Linked DNA regions of Homo sapiens: region 1 is linked to region 2. Evidence: promoter capture Hi-C in 16 types of primary human blood cells and fetal thymus (Javierre and others, 2016). All regions are on one chromosome and are shown on one strand. The core of a region is centred on a gene start or on the middle of the fragment in contact, and the rest is flanking DNA. Distances in the headings are between cores, read along the strand shown.

Evidence for each region. Contacts are between HindIII fragments. The CHiCAGO score rates a contact against its expected background, and 5 or more counts as called.
Region 1: the fragment with the promoter of INTS6L here is called in contact with the fragment with the promoter of HPRT1 in region 2 in 1 of 17 cell types (neutrophils); the score reaches 6.2 in neutrophils.

What each region holds. Positions count from the first base shown.
Region 1 is chrX:135,519,221-135,521,920 of GRCh38, reverse strand. INTS6L (integrator complex subunit 6 like) reads right to left here and starts at 1,261. Exons shown (of 18, transcript NM_001351601.3): 1 at 818-1,261; 2 at 603-680. The coding sequence starts at 928. It overlaps INTS6L-AS1 (INTS6L antisense RNA 1), which reads left to right and starts at 1,247. Exons shown (of 2, transcript NR_046740.1): 1 at 1,247-1,354; 2 at 1,549-1,838. RefSeq lists silencers at 158-357, 418-687 and enhancers at 938-997, 1,028-1,107. The HindIII fragment of the contact is 2,771 bases long and covers 1-1,821 here.
Region 2 is chrX:134,458,755-134,461,454 of GRCh38, reverse strand. It overlaps HPRT1 (hypoxanthine phosphoribosyltransferase 1), which reads right to left and starts at 1,290. Exons shown (of 9, transcript NM_000194.3): 1 at 1,117-1,290. The coding sequence starts at 1,143. RefSeq lists silencers at 1,019-1,198, 1,299-1,418. The HindIII fragment of the contact is 6,801 bases long and covers 1-2,700 here.

The DNA of each region.
Region 1 (2,700 bases), core at 12-2,511, 1.1 Mb before region 2:
GGAAGAGGGGGAGAAGGAGGAGATGCAGCGAAGAGCCCAAGGAGGGGGAGGAAGACCGGGGGAGGAAGGAGGGGCCAGAGGAGGAGCCCAGGCTCCGGGAAAGCCCGCGCGCCCGGCCGGCAGGACCTCGGGGCGGAGTCGCAGGCTCCGTCCGGCCCCCCGCGCGGCGACCCTCGCGCGGTGCGCCTCGAAGGGGCGGGCCCGCCTCGCAGCCTCCCTCCGGGTTTCGGGCCCTCCTTCCCCGCTCCTCCCTCCCCTCCCTCCTTTCCATCTCAGCAGCGCCCTCAGTCTCCCTCTCGCAGGCTCATACAAAAGCAAAATGTCCGCCATGTTCCGAGGCGGCTGCGGTTGTCGCGCCACGAGCTCGGCCCTCCTGCGGTTTCTCCCCGGGGCTGCTCCTCCCCGGTCCCCTCTCCCCGACCCCAGGCGCGACAGCTACTCCGAAGCCGCCGACGGCACCACTCCGCCCGCCCTCTGCGCACCCCCTCGCCGCCCGCCCCGCCGGGCGACGCAGGACCGCCTTAGGCGGGGGCAGGGGGGTAAGCAGCCCCCGCCGACTTGCTCCCGCTTCCCGCCTGTCCCCCCACCCGTAGCCCCTTTACCTTGATGCAGTACGGGGGTTCGTCGTAGGTGACCAGCATGTACCTGTCTCCACGGCTGGCCGGGTCCCGGGCGCGCAGCTGCGGGGCAAGGGATGACGGAGGGGGTCGCGTAGGAAAGGAGGGGGGAGGGCGATACAAACGTTACAGAAGCACCTCAATCCACACCCTGAAATCCCTCGGGAGCTCTCCCCATCTCTCCCCTCCCCTCCCTTTACCTTCAAGAATAACTCCACAGCGCCTTTGGCAATGTCCAAATAAGAGGTGCCCAGGTCAGTGCGCTGGTTCATAGAGGCGGACGTGTCTATGAGGAACAGCAGGATGGGCATCTTCCCCCGCACTCCTGCCTCCGCTCCCCACTCTCCCGGCCCTCTTGCCCTCACTGCCGCGTACGGCCACCTGAACCCTCAACTCTCGCAGAGCCGGGGAGCAAGGAGCAAGAGGAAGAGGGGGAGACGGGACGGGACGGGACGGATGGGACCGCTCCTGGCCTCCTCTTTCTGCAGCCCCACCTCCTCTCCCTCCAAGGGAACTTGAAAGTGTGAGCGTGTGTAGCCCTCGGGGCCCTCCCCCTTCCTCTCTTCTGCTGCCACCACTACTGCCGCTGCCAGGACTACTGCCTAAGCATCCGTCCGCGCTCACTAGAGCGCTCGCCCCAGACTGAGCGCCGTCTCTGTTCACTGACAACTTCTGTCTGCTCACCTACCATCGGCACCATGTGACCAGAACCCATGCCATTGGCTGCCAATTATGTGGTATTTGCATATTCATTAGATGACAGGACTAGGGGAGGGACTTGGGCGAACCCTGGGAGTTGAAGTTTGAACCCAGGCAGAGGGTAAGGGGAAGTGTTACGGACCCTCGCTAGGATTCTCCTTTAAAGGACTTGGAAGCAGTTCGAATGATTAGTTCGGGTGGTTTAAATGGATTTTTCTGTCTCTCTTCAAAGATGGTGATTCGAAAAGAAGAGTGAATTTGAGCAACAGTTGTACAGAAGTACAGAAGCAGATGCTTGGACAGTTTGCACAGAAAATTCTTCGCTAACTGCAATCGATCAATCCTGCCAGTGGCGAAGACGAAAATATTTCAGAAGCAGCAAACTTCTTTCCTGGCAGGACGTACTCACATTCCTTTAGATCCCTCCCCCGTCTTGATCAGTATTTGTGAGTTGGTTGCTGGCCTTGCATTCCACATATATCTACTTAGAAAGGAAACTAAAGCTTAAACACAGTTACAGTTACCTAAACTGGCCTTTTGTATGCACAAGCTTCTTCAGTTTCACTAAGCTCTTTGAAACATTGGCCTGCCTGTGATAATTCCACCACTGTTCCCTCTGCGCAGCCTTTACACATGGAGGTTTGCAAACCTAGATTGTGATTCAACTCACATATTTATTTATTTATTTATTTTTATAAATAAATAAAGAGGATCTCGCTTGATCGCCCAGGCTGGAGTGCAGTGGCCCCATCATAGCTGCCTGCAGCGTCCAGCTCCTGGGCTTAAGCGATCCTCCCATCTCAGCCTCTCAAGTAGCTGGGACCACAGGGGCAGGCTCTCAACTCACATTTATTGAGTGCCTATGAAGAGCCAGGCACCCACGGTAGCCTTGTTTAATCTTTGAATTAATTATGGCAGATGGCATTGTATTCAATTTTCAGTAGAGGAAAATGCAGCTCCCTGAGGTTAGGGTAACAATTACGGATACTCTCAGGTCTGGCTCTGTGAAGAGACTCAGTAAGTGGCCAACCACACTTGATTGACTACTTCATATGACACAATTTTAAAAATTGGACTTGTGTATTCCTGGCAATTACTATTGACAATGTGGAATCCAGGACTTCAATGAGTTTGCAGTTTCATTGAGGAGAGATGATGACATATACATACATAATATTTTATATATTTTGGCCAGGCGCAGTGGCTCATGCCTGTAATTCCAGCACTTTGGGAGGCCGAGGTGGGTGGATCATTTGAGGGCAGGAGTTTGAGACCAGCCTGGCCAACATGGTGAAACCCCCGTCTCTACTAAAAATACAAAAATTAGCCGGGCATGGGAGCAGGCGCCTGTAGTCCCAGCTACTTGGGAGGCTGAGGCAGGAGA
Region 2 (2,700 bases), core at 41-2,540:
ATAGCACTGCTCTTTACCTTAAGTCATTACAATGCCTAATATGAAATAGAATCGCTTCTTTCTTAGGGTTCAAGTGGTTAATTATTTAATGTATTCATTCAACAAACCATCATCGAGGACCTCTTACAAGCCAAGTACTGTGCTAAGTGCTAGAGTTACGGCGGTGATTCCTGCCCTTAAAAAGTTTTAGTGGGAGAAACAACAGGTAACCAGGTCATTGCCAAAACAACAAAAATAATCATAATAAAGCAGGCTAAAGCATATTTAACTGGCCGGGGTTTTGACTATTTTAGCAAGCATGATCAGAACGGTTGAGGAGGGAGGCCAGCAGCTTGGCCGGTTCAACAAACAAGAAAAAACCAGTGAGGGTGGAGCTAAGATACCAGAGGCTGATTACGGTTAAGAATGTTCTTGAAGGTAAGGACCAGATTCTCATTTTCTATATCCTGGGGCATCGGTCAGCATGGAATCTGGATTCTAGCACATGTGAATTTCGGCTTGAAATGACCTAATGCCTTTTCCCTAGTTCCTTCGTGTGTCAAATACGCATGGTTACCGCTACCAGAGCTGTAGTGGGGCTTCAATGAGGCCATGAGCATCTCCATAAAGATGAACTACAGTGTGTGCAAAACTAAAGGCAAAACCTGGTCCCCACACGCCCTCCCAGGTGGTCGCTTTCCGTGCCGAGGCCCCTCCAGAGGTGCCCCGAGAACCTCACCATCGCACCCCAAACTTCCAGGGAAGGGCCTCTCCCGAGAAAGCCCCCACGCCCCCACCCCGCGCCATCATTCCCGAATCTGCCCTCGGCCCCTCCCCGCAGCACGCTCGCAGGCGGCACATGTCAACCAAAACGCCATTTCCACCTTCTCTTCCCACACGCAGTCCTCTTTTCCCAGGGCTCCCCCGAGGAGGGACCCACCCCAAACCCCGCCATTCCGTCCTCCCTGCCGCCCTCGCGTGACGTAAAGCCGAACCCGGGAAACTGGCCGCCCCCGCCTGCGGGGTTCCCTGGGCCCGGCCGCCCGAGCCCGCACTGCGGATCCCGCGCCTCAGGGCCCGGCCGCCACCTGCCGCGTGGGCCTGAACCGGCCAGGGCCGGCAGGCCGAGCTGCTCACCACGACGCCAGGGCTGCGGGTCGCCATAACGGAGCCGGCCGGCGCGCGGGCTGACTGCTCAGGAGGAGGAAGCCGGTGGCGGAGCAGAGGAGGAGGCGGAGGCGCAGCAAGAGGCGGCGCCGCGCGGGAAAGCCGAGAGGTTCGCCTGAGGGCTCGTCGCAGCCGCCTGAAGCTGAGGAGAAGCAGGCCCCGCCCTCTGCCCGCCCCGCCACGCCCCGCAGGCCCCGCCCCCGGCCCCGCCCGCGCGCCTACGCCGGCGCCTACCAGTTTGCAGGCTCACTAGGTAGCCGTGGGAATTTTCTCCCAGAAGAAGCCGAGGCTCCCCCAGCGAAGCCCCTTTCCCTCCCAACTCAGTCTCCTATTCAGAGGGCTCCCTGATTCCCAAACCTACCGGCGCGCGTTGCTTCATGGCGGCCGTAAACCGGGCCCCGGCTCTTCGGGTTCCAGTCATCGCGTGAATCCTTGGACCAGACGTCCCATTCCCAAGACCTTGCACTACCTGTGGCTTCCATTTTCCTGACTCTTGGCCCAGTGCTTCCCCAAACCCTTAACTGGTTGTAACAGTTGAGACCTAGAGTCCTAGAGTCACCCAGATCAGGGTACACATCTGAGAGGACACTTAACTGCTCTGTAGTTTTGTACAAATCAGACTCTGAGCCTCTATTTTTGCCTCACTAAAATGAGCATATTAGCCCGGCGCGGTGGCTCATGCCTGTAATCCCAGCACTTTGGGAGGCCGAGGCAGGTGGATCACTCAAGGTCAGGAGTACGAGACCAGCCTGGCCAACATGGCGAAACCCCATCTCTACTAAAAATACAAAAATTAGCTGGGCGTGGAGGCGGGCGCCTGTAATCCCAGCTAGTCCGGAGGCTGAGGCAGGAGAATCACTTGAACCCGGGAGGCGGAGGTCGCACTGAGCTGAGATCGCACCACTGCACTTCAGCCTCCGCGACAGAATGAGACTCCGTCTCAAAAATAAATAAAAATAAAAATAAATAAAAATTTAAAAATAAAATGAGCATATTAACAATACATAAACAGGATCATTTTGAGTATTAGAGGAGTATAGGTATGCGTGTGTGTATGTATATATATATGCACTTAGGACAGTACAGTCAGCAAATGGGAACTACTGTTATTACTACTGATCTTTATTTTTGCCCACACAAGTTCTTATATTGAATCTGAAAACAAAAATATGTTCCCCTGCTAATTAATTCTCAGATAGGTCAGGTAAGCAAGCAACAGTTGCTCCAGCAACACCATTTCTTATATACTCAACCCTATAGCTCCAGCATCCACCACAGTGCCCAGCACATAGTTGGTGGCCTCCCTCTTATTAAGGACGCTGAGGGGTATGTGATGGCAGGAGATTTGTAAAACTAGGCAAGTCATTGAGCTTCTCTGGACCTCAGTCTCTTCATCTAAAAAATGAGAATAATAAACCTGGGTAACATGGTGAGACTCAGTCTCTACAAAAATGAAAAATTATCTGGGCCTGGTGGCCATGTGCCTGTAGCCCCAGCTACTTGGGAGGCTGAGGTGGGAGGATGGCTTGAGCCCAGGAGGTCCAGGCTGCAGTG